Regions from separate parts of the Homo sapiens genome. Here region 2 is linked to region 1. Evidence: promoter capture Hi-C in human tissues and cell types (Jung and others, 2019). All regions are on one chromosome and are shown on one strand. Each heading gives the region's core, a stretch centred on a gene start or on the middle of the fragment in contact. The rest is flanking DNA. Distances are from core to core; before and after follow the strand shown. Region 1 holds the start of TMEM203 (transmembrane protein 203). Region 2 holds the start of PNPLA7 (patatin like domain 7, lysophospholipase).

What was found. The method cuts DNA at HindIII sites, captures the fragments that hold promoters and counts their contacts. A contact is called where the count stands out against the background at its distance.
Region 2: the fragment with the promoter of PNPLA7 here is called in contact with the fragment with the promoter of TMEM203 in region 1 in 2 of the 25 tissues and cell types used here (dorsolateral prefrontal cortex and pancreas).

Annotation. Positions count from the first base shown.
Region 1 is chr9:137,202,127-137,207,893 of GRCh38, forward strand. It overlaps TMEM203 (transmembrane protein 203), which reads right to left and starts at 3,522. Exons shown (of 1, transcript NM_053045.2): 1 at 1,956-3,522. The coding sequence starts at 3,288. The coding sequence ends at 2,878. It overlaps NDOR1 (NADPH dependent diflavin oxidoreductase 1), which reads left to right and starts at 3,574. Exons shown (of 14, transcript NM_014434.4): 1 at 3,574-3,786; 2 at 4,106-4,183. The coding sequence starts at 3,652. RefSeq lists a silencer at 3,278-3,537. The HindIII fragment of the contact is 14,043 bases long and covers 1-5,767 here.
Region 2 is chr9:137,549,152-137,551,651 of GRCh38, forward strand. PNPLA7 (patatin like domain 7, lysophospholipase) reads right to left here and starts at 1,251. Exons shown (of 35, transcript NM_001098537.3): 1 at 1,017-1,251. The coding sequence starts at 1,046. RefSeq lists an enhancer at 360-861 and a silencer at 2,050-2,500. The HindIII fragment of the contact is 18,703 bases long and covers 1-2,500 here.

The DNA.
Region 1 (5,767 bases), core at 2,272-4,771:
TCGGCTCACTACAACCTCCGCCTCCAGGATTCAAGCGATTCTCCTGCCTTCGCCTCCCAAGTAGCTGGGGTTACAGGTGCCCACCACAACGCCCGGCTAATTTTTGTATTTTTAGTAGAGACGGGATTTCGCCATGTTGGCCAGGCTGGTCTCGAACTCCTGGCCTCATGATCTGCCTGCCTTGGCCTCCCAAACTGCTGGGATTACAGGCGTGAGCCACTGGGCCTGGCCAGAATAAACTTTCATTTCAGCTTTCCAGAAGCCAAGTGTCTCCTCCCTTAGGGCCCTCCTCAAATCACCTTTCTAAAGGAAGCATCTGATGTTCATCACTTCTACCCTAGTAGGGTTGCCCAATTCTGAACTACCAAAATAAAACAGGGGAACACACAAAACACAAAATCTAGAAATAAATAACATTACGAGGAAACTCACTCCCACTGTTCAGCTTGAATCTGGCTTTGACAAAAGTTATGCCAATCCCAGGCTGGACACAGTGTCGTAGCAACAAACCAGATAAGCTGCCTCCAACGCAAGCCCCTCCATGGTTTACACAACTAAGCATACACGCCAGGCAGAGGCTGACACCGCACTCCGCTGGCCAGGCTGATGCATGAGAGCAGAGGTCAGCACACCTGTTCTGTAACGAGCCAGATAGGAAATTTTTTTTTTTTTTTTTTTTTGAGACAGAGTCTCGCTCTGTCGCCCACGCTGGAGTGCAGTGGTGCTATCTCGGCTGACTGCAATCTCTGCCTCCCAGGTTCAAGCAATTCTCCTGCCTCAGCCTCCTGAGTAGCTGGGATTACAGGCATGCGCCACCATGCCCAGCTAATTTTAGTATTTTTAGTAGAGACGGGGTTTCACCACGTTGGTCAGGCTGGTCTCAAACTCCTGACCTCGTGATCTGCCCGCCTCCGCCTCCCAAAGTGCTGGGATTACAAGCGTGAGCCACCGCATCTGGCCCCAGACAGGAAATATTTTAGCCCACTGGTTTTTGCCAGGGACAATTTTGTTCCCCAGGGCCCTTAGCAATGTCTGGATAAACATCTGCTTGTCACAAGTGAAGGCTGCTACTGGCATCTACCCAGGAGAGGCAGGAGCACTGCGAAACAGACTGCATCCTCACTAGAGAATCTTCTGGCCCCAAAGGCCAAGAGTGCCAATTAAGAGACCTTGGACTCTGAGGGTCATATCCACTCTCTGTCACAAGTTCTGCTTTTGTTTTTTTTTTTGTTTGTTTGTTTTTTTCTGAGACAGAGTCTCGCTCTGTTGGCCAGGCTGGAGTGCAGTGGCGTTGTCTCGGCTCACTGCAAGCTCCGCCTCCCGGGTTCACGCCATTCTCCTGCCTCAGCCTCCCAAGTAGCTGGGACTATAGGCACCCGCCACCACGCCCGGCTAATTTTTGTATTTTTAGTAGAGACAGGGTTTCACCGTGTTAGCCAGGATAGTTTCGATCTCCTGATCTTGTGATCCACCCACCTCGGCCTCCCAAAGTGCTGGGATTACAGGCGTGAGCCACCACGCCTGGCCTGCTTTTGCTTTTAATCATTTAGGGGTGTAAAAACCATCCTCAGCTCAAGGGTCATACAAAAACAGGCCTTAGGACATTGTTTGCTGATCCCTGCTCTACAGAGTGCCAACAAGGCCCACAAAGACCACACTCTGGCAAGAAGTCATGGGCTCTGGGGTCACAAACTATTCAATGGGTCTTTAACATGAGCCCAGATTGTTGTCTTCATACAGGGTGGGGGGGGGGGTGCCTGAGTTACCCACCTCCTAGAGCAGGAAGGAGGGATTCTCCAGAACAAGTGATTCCCACCACCACCATCCACTAAGCTCTAGCCACAGGTTTCAATCCATTTAAAACCGCAGCTCTGTAACCAGCTACACCACGTAGCAGAGAGTATCTCAATATTCATCCTATTTAACCCTTGAGGGTTACAGGCAACCACTATTCATTTCAGGAAAACATTCTCTTACTTTATTTGCATCTCAGCAAAGGTTCTCATGTGGCACCTGACTGGCATCAAACCAAAGTTCGTAGGCCAACAAAGATGGGCCACTCACAAGCTTCCCATTTGTAGATCTCAGTGCCTATGAGTATCTGACACCTGTTCCTCTCTTCAGTCTCTTAGGGAGGCTTAAATCTGTCTCAGGTGTGCTAAGAGTGCCAGCCCAAGGTGGTCAAAAGTCCACAAAACTGCAGTCTTTGCTGGGATAGTAAGCCAAGCAGTGCCTGGACAGCAGAGTTCTTTTCTTGGGCAACAGATAACCAGACAGGACTCTAATCGTGCTCTTATTCAACATTCTTCTGTCTCTGCCTAGACTGGAATAAAAAGCCAATCTCTCTCGTGGCACAGGGAAGGAGATACAAGCTCGTTTACATGTGATAGATCTAACAAAGGCATCTACCGAAGTCTGGTCTGGATAGACGGCACAGGGAGCTCTTAGGTCAGCGCTGCTGGTTGGAGGACATTCCTGAGTCCAGCTTTGCAGCCTTTGTGCAACAGTACTTTCCCAGGATCCACAGGAAATACTCAGAGTCCACCTGGACATTTTACTTATATTCAGTTTCCAAGTGTCAGAGGGGTTCAGGACTGTCTGGCCTGGGGGGCCTCCTCATGACCTCAATTCAGGATTATCTACTCAAAGCATTAAACAAAAGGAAATACATTTTCAGGATGAAGGCTGCTCTTTTAAGCCCTGCTGAAGAAACCATTTCAAACAGGATTGGAATAGGGAAACCCGGCACTCAGCTCGGCGCAAGCCGGCGGTGCCTTCAGACTAGAGAGCCTCTCCTCCGGTGCGCTGCAAGTAGGGCCTCGGCTCGAGGTCAACATTCTAGTTGTCCAGCGCTCCCTCTCCGGCACCTCGGTGAGGCTAGTTGACCCGACAGGCGCGGATCATGAGCAGCTGCAGGAGAATGAAGAGCGGGGACGTAATGAGGCCGAACCAGAGCTCCCGAGTCTGCTCCGCCAGCTTCTGGCACAACAGCATCTCGAAGACGAACTTGAGACTCAGGACCGTAAGTACCCAGAAAAGGCGGAGCACCGCCAGCCGCTTCTCTCCATCCTGGAAGAGGCGCACGGACACGATGGTGGTGAAGTAGGTGCTGAGCCCGTCAGCGGCGAAGAAAGGCACGAACACGTTCCACCAGGAGAGGCCCGGGACCAGGCCATCCACACGCAGTGCCAGCAGCACAGAGAACACCAACAGGGCCAGCAGGTGCACGAAGATCTCGAAGGTGGCGAAGCCTAGCCACTGCACCAGCTCCCGGAGCGAGAAGAGCATCGCGCCCGTTGAGCGCGGGCCGGGGCCCGGCCGAGCGTGCCACCCGCGGGGCTGCGTCTCCTCTCCCCGTGGCCCTCGCCCGCGCCTGCCGCCGCTGCTGCGAGCGAGAGGCAGCGAGCGGCCCCGCCAGCCCCAGCCCTCGGCCCTGATGCGCCGGCAATCCCCCGGCCCCGACCCGGGACTCAACCCTGGCCGCCCGTGAACGCCCGCCTCGATCGGACGCCATGCCCCCACAGGGCGCGTCCCTAGTGCGTCACTTCCGGTCGACGGCGGAAGGCGGAAGGCGGAGCGGTCCCTGCAACCCGGCCGGCGGGAACTGCCTTCTAGTTTTTAGTCTCAGACCAGACCACCGGGCGCACCCCGATGCCGAGCCCGCAGCTTCTGGTGCTCTTCGGCAGCCAGACAGGCACGGCTCAGGATGTGTCGGAGAGACTGGGTCGCGAGGCCCGGCGCCGGCGGCTTGGCTGCCGGGTGCAGGCCCTGGACTCCTACCCGGTGGTGAGGGCTCGCTAGGGCCTCGGCGTGGGGGACGAGCAGGCCTGGCGTGCCCGCCTCGCGGGGTCATCGACCCAAAAGGCGTCGCATTTTCTCTGAGAGCGGGTCTTTCCCTTATGGCGGATTTAGGGAAGGAGGTTTGGGAAGGGGAGTTCAGTTTAGCACCTGGAGGAGGTTGGAACCTGAAAGAGAAGACGGTCTGGCTGCTCACATAAATCCCTCTGCCCTGTCAGCCTGAGTAAAGGAGAAGGGGGTCAAGTTTTGGGAAGGACGCCCGGTCCTTACAGCCGGAGGTCTTACGTGTGTGTGTCTTTTTGTTGAGGTGAATCTGATTAACGAGCCCCTGGTGATATTTGTTTGTGCAACTACAGGCCAAGGAGACCCCCCTGACAACATGAAGGTAAGGCTGGCCTGATGTGGCTCCTCAGATCCCTGCCCTCGACCCTCACCCCGTTTTCATTGCCTGGCGTCTAGGTGCAGTAAATAGCTCTCCTTTATCTCATGCACCTTCAGAGGTGGATTTGAGAGAACGTCCGTGAGTGGGGCTGGGGGCTCCGGTTGCCCTCTCTAATAAACTCGTCGTAGCCACCAAATAGCCTTATTATCCGTTTTAACCTTTCTTATTTTTCCAGGGCTATCTATATGTGCATCTAGTCTGGGTCTTGTGTGTATTTCTAGACTGTATGACCCTCAGGGAACGTTGCTGAATTCTCTGACCATCTTTTAAGCACATATTCTATTCTTGGCACAGTCTGGTGCTGGGGATCCAGCTGTGAACCCAGCAGCCATATTTCCATCCTGGCAGAGTTCACACTGTAGCAGAAGCAGCTAACGGGCAATGACAGTGCCAGCAAACACCTGCTGCTGGGGAAAGTAGCATATGTCACAGGAGCACTGATAAGGGGCATCGAGCCTTATCTCACCCAACCTTGGGGCCCAGGCAGAGGTTTCTGGAAGAAAAGAGTGTAAGCTGAGTCACGGAAGGATGCGTGAGGGCTAGTCAGGCACCGAGGAAGAAGGAGCAGTCAGCGCAGAGGAAAAAGATGATTTGGTTTGTGTGAAAAGTGGAAAGCAGCTCAGGGTGGCCAAGCTGAGGAGTACACTGGGGCAAGAGGGGAGGAGAAGAGAGGCAGGAAGCCAGGCCCAGTCCAAAGAGCCTGAGTAACCACAGCAAGGCAGATGGGCTTGAAATGAAGGGTTGTCGGAACTGTAGGGGTGACACAGTCATGTTCCTAAGCTAGCAAAACCGCACTGGTCTGCAGGACAGCAGGAATAATGCCATGAGATGCACAGGACAGGCAGCAGATGCTACCGATCTGAGCTGAAGTGGTGGCAGAAGATAGAAGTGGACACATTGCAGTGGTGTCAGGAAGAGAGAGTCCCCGGGACATGGAACGGACCCAATAGGTCAAGCAGAATCGAGACAGGGATGTGGGCTCTGGAACCAAGATGGATGGTGGTTCCATCCACAGAAATCAGAGAACACGGTGGGAGTAGGGGGCTGTGCAGGAAGGGAACCTGGAGACATTGAAGTGGAGAAGTGCAGTAGGACTAGCGCTCCAAGGAAGATCCTGGGGCGGAGATAGGTGTTGAGGTAGCCACAATACAGAAGTGTGAGAAGAGGAAGCTCCTCTCTCCCCACAGGACAGGCTGCCCAGAACGTTAGAGCCCAGGAGGGCAGGAGAGTGACCAAGCAGCTAGAAGAGAGGGTGCAGCACCCCAAGGAGAGGACTGGGGGAGTGAGTGTTCCAGGAAGGGCTCTGGCATGTAAAGCTGCACAGAAGTCAAATCAGATAAAGCCTGAGAGGGATCCATGGGATTTCTTGGCAAAGGGATTGTTGGTGATACCAGGAAGAGCAGCTTCAGTGGCTCATGGGGAGAGAAGCCAGATTACAGGAGATCAGCAACTGAGAGAGTGAGTGGAGAGCATCTTTTAAGAATGTCTTGAGTGCGGGCCGGCTGCGGTGGCTCACGCCTGTAATCT
Region 2 (2,500 bases), core at 1-2,500, 340 kb after region 1:
AGGCCTTTGCCATGTGGCTACAGATGTTTGACTAAGAAAAAGATTCTAGGGCTGGGCACAGTGTCTCACGCCTGTAATCCCAGCACTTTGGGAGGCCGAGGCGGGCAGATCATGAGGTCAAGAGTTCAAGACTAGGCCGGGCACGGTGGCTCATGCCTGTAATCCCTGCACTTTGGGAGGCCAAGGCGGGCGGATCACGAGGTCAGGAAATCGAGACCATCCTGGCTAACACAGTGAAACACCGTCTCTACTGAAAATACAAAAAAATATTAGCCGGGCGTGGTGGTGGGCGCCTGTAGTCCCAGCTACTTGGGAGGCCGAGGCAGGAGAATGGCGTGAACCTGGGAGGCAGAGCTTGCAGTGAGTTGAGATCGTGCCACTGCAATCCAGCTTGGGCGACAGAGCAAGACTCCGTCTCAAAAAAAAAAAAAAAAAAAGTTCAAGACCAGCCTGGCCAACATGGCGAAACCCCGTTTCTACTAAGAATACAAAAATTAGCCGGGCGTGGTGCCTGTAGTCCCAGCTACCCGGGAGGCTGAGGCAGAATTGCCTGAACCCAGGAGGCGGAGGTTGCTGTGAGCCAAGATCACACCATTGCACACCAGCCTGGGCGACAGAGCGAGACTCCGTCTTGGGAAAAAAAAAAACACAGAAAAAGGTTCTAAGCAAAACCATCAGGCAAAGTCCTAAAGGAACTGGAAGTAGCAACTGTGACCTTAGGGGAAGAAAAGACAAGGCCTCAGGCAATGCCCATGGGCCACCGCTGGCTGCCCTCGCTGTGAACAATGCCCATGGGCCACCACTGGCTGTCTGCTGTGACAGGCGCGTCTAACAAGTGCTGGCAGCTGTGACAGGCAGCAGAGAGGGGCCAGATCCACCACTCCCACAGTCCTCAGGCGCCAAGAAGCCACGGGGCCAAAGAGCGCGGCAGAGCAGACGCCAAGAGGACCCTTCTCTGGGTCCAGAAATGCCCCCCAACTGGGAAATCCAGGCATCTGGTCCCCCGAGTTACATACCTGTGGGCTGTCATCTTTCTCTTCCTCCATGGCCAGAAACAGAAAAAACAGTCAGGGGCGAAAAGCAGACAGCCTGAAGCAAACAAGGGCACACCTCTACCCGCTCATGCTCACACCTGGACACTTTTCCCTGGGTTCCTTTCAAGTCAAATTATGTTTCACTGAAAGGAAAATCCTGCTGAAAAAGTCTGTTCTCCAGGAAGAAAAGCTGTCTTTTGAGAAGTGTCTGTCATCTGCTAGGAGCCACCTCCTTCCCTCTGTAAACAGCCCTCACGTGGCTGTCCCGGAACCCAGAACAGCAGCCAGATGGGGCGTATCCAAGCAGGTCAAGAGGAGCCAGGCCCAGCGCGGCGGGGATGGGGGCAGCGCTGCCTTCTGGAGAAGCACGGCTGGAGGGGAGGTGACGCTGGCGGGGCGTGGATCCGGGGTGTGGGGATGCAGCTGGGGAGGAGGGTGCAGCTGGGGAGGGGGTGGATCCGGCGTGTAGGGGTACCGCTGGGGAGTGGGTGCAGCTGGGGAGGGGGTGGATCTGGGGTGTGGGGGTGCCGCTGGGGAGTGGGTGCAGCTGGGGAGGGGGTGGATCCGGCGTGTAGGGGTACCGCTGGGGAGTGGGTGCAGCTGGGGAGGGGGTGGATCTGGGGTGTGGGGGTACTGCTGGGGAGAGGGTGCAGCTGGGGAGCGCGTGGATCCGGCGAGTGGGGGTACCGCTAGGGAGGGGGTGCAGCTGGGGAGGGGGTGGATCTGGGGTGTGGGGGTGCCGCTGGGGAGGGGGTGCAGCTGGGGAGGGGGTGGATCTGGGGCGTGGGGGTGCCGCTGGGGAGGGGGTGCAGCTGGGGAGGGGGTGGATCTGGGGCGTGGGGGTGCCGCTGGGGAGGGGGTGCAGCTGGGGAGGGGATGGATCTGGGGTGTGGGGGTACCGCTGGGGAAGGGCGTGCAGCTGGAGAGGGGATGGATCTGGGCTGTGGGGGTGCCGCTGGGGACGGGGTGCAGCTGGGGAGGGGGTGGATCCGGATTGTGAGGGTGCGGCTGGGGGGCGACTTCCGCGTGGGGTGAGAGGTCGCCTGCGAGGGTGACCGGGCAGGAGGGCTCAGTGCGCAAGCCGGACGTGCTGGGTCCAAGATTATTGATTAATTTGGGCACCGCGAGGGCTCGAGTCCCCCCACACCACTGCCCGGCCTGCGGGGGAGCACAGACAGCCCGGGCCCTCCCGGCTGCAGGTCCCGGGCTTTCCCCGCGCGGTTGCCGGCTCCGCCCAGAGGAGCCGCGCCCGGCGGAGGGGTAAGAAAGGCAGGGTCGCGGCGTCAACGCGGCGGCCGTCTCGAGTCCAGGGCCCGCGTCCTCCCCGACCTCCCGACGCCACCTCACGGCCTCAGGGGGACTGGGCTCCCGGGAAACCGCCGGCCACCTGGCGGACGAACACAGGCAGTGGCGGGCAGTGGAGACGCCAGGGACCACCGCGCTGAGAGCGATCACTCATCCGCCAG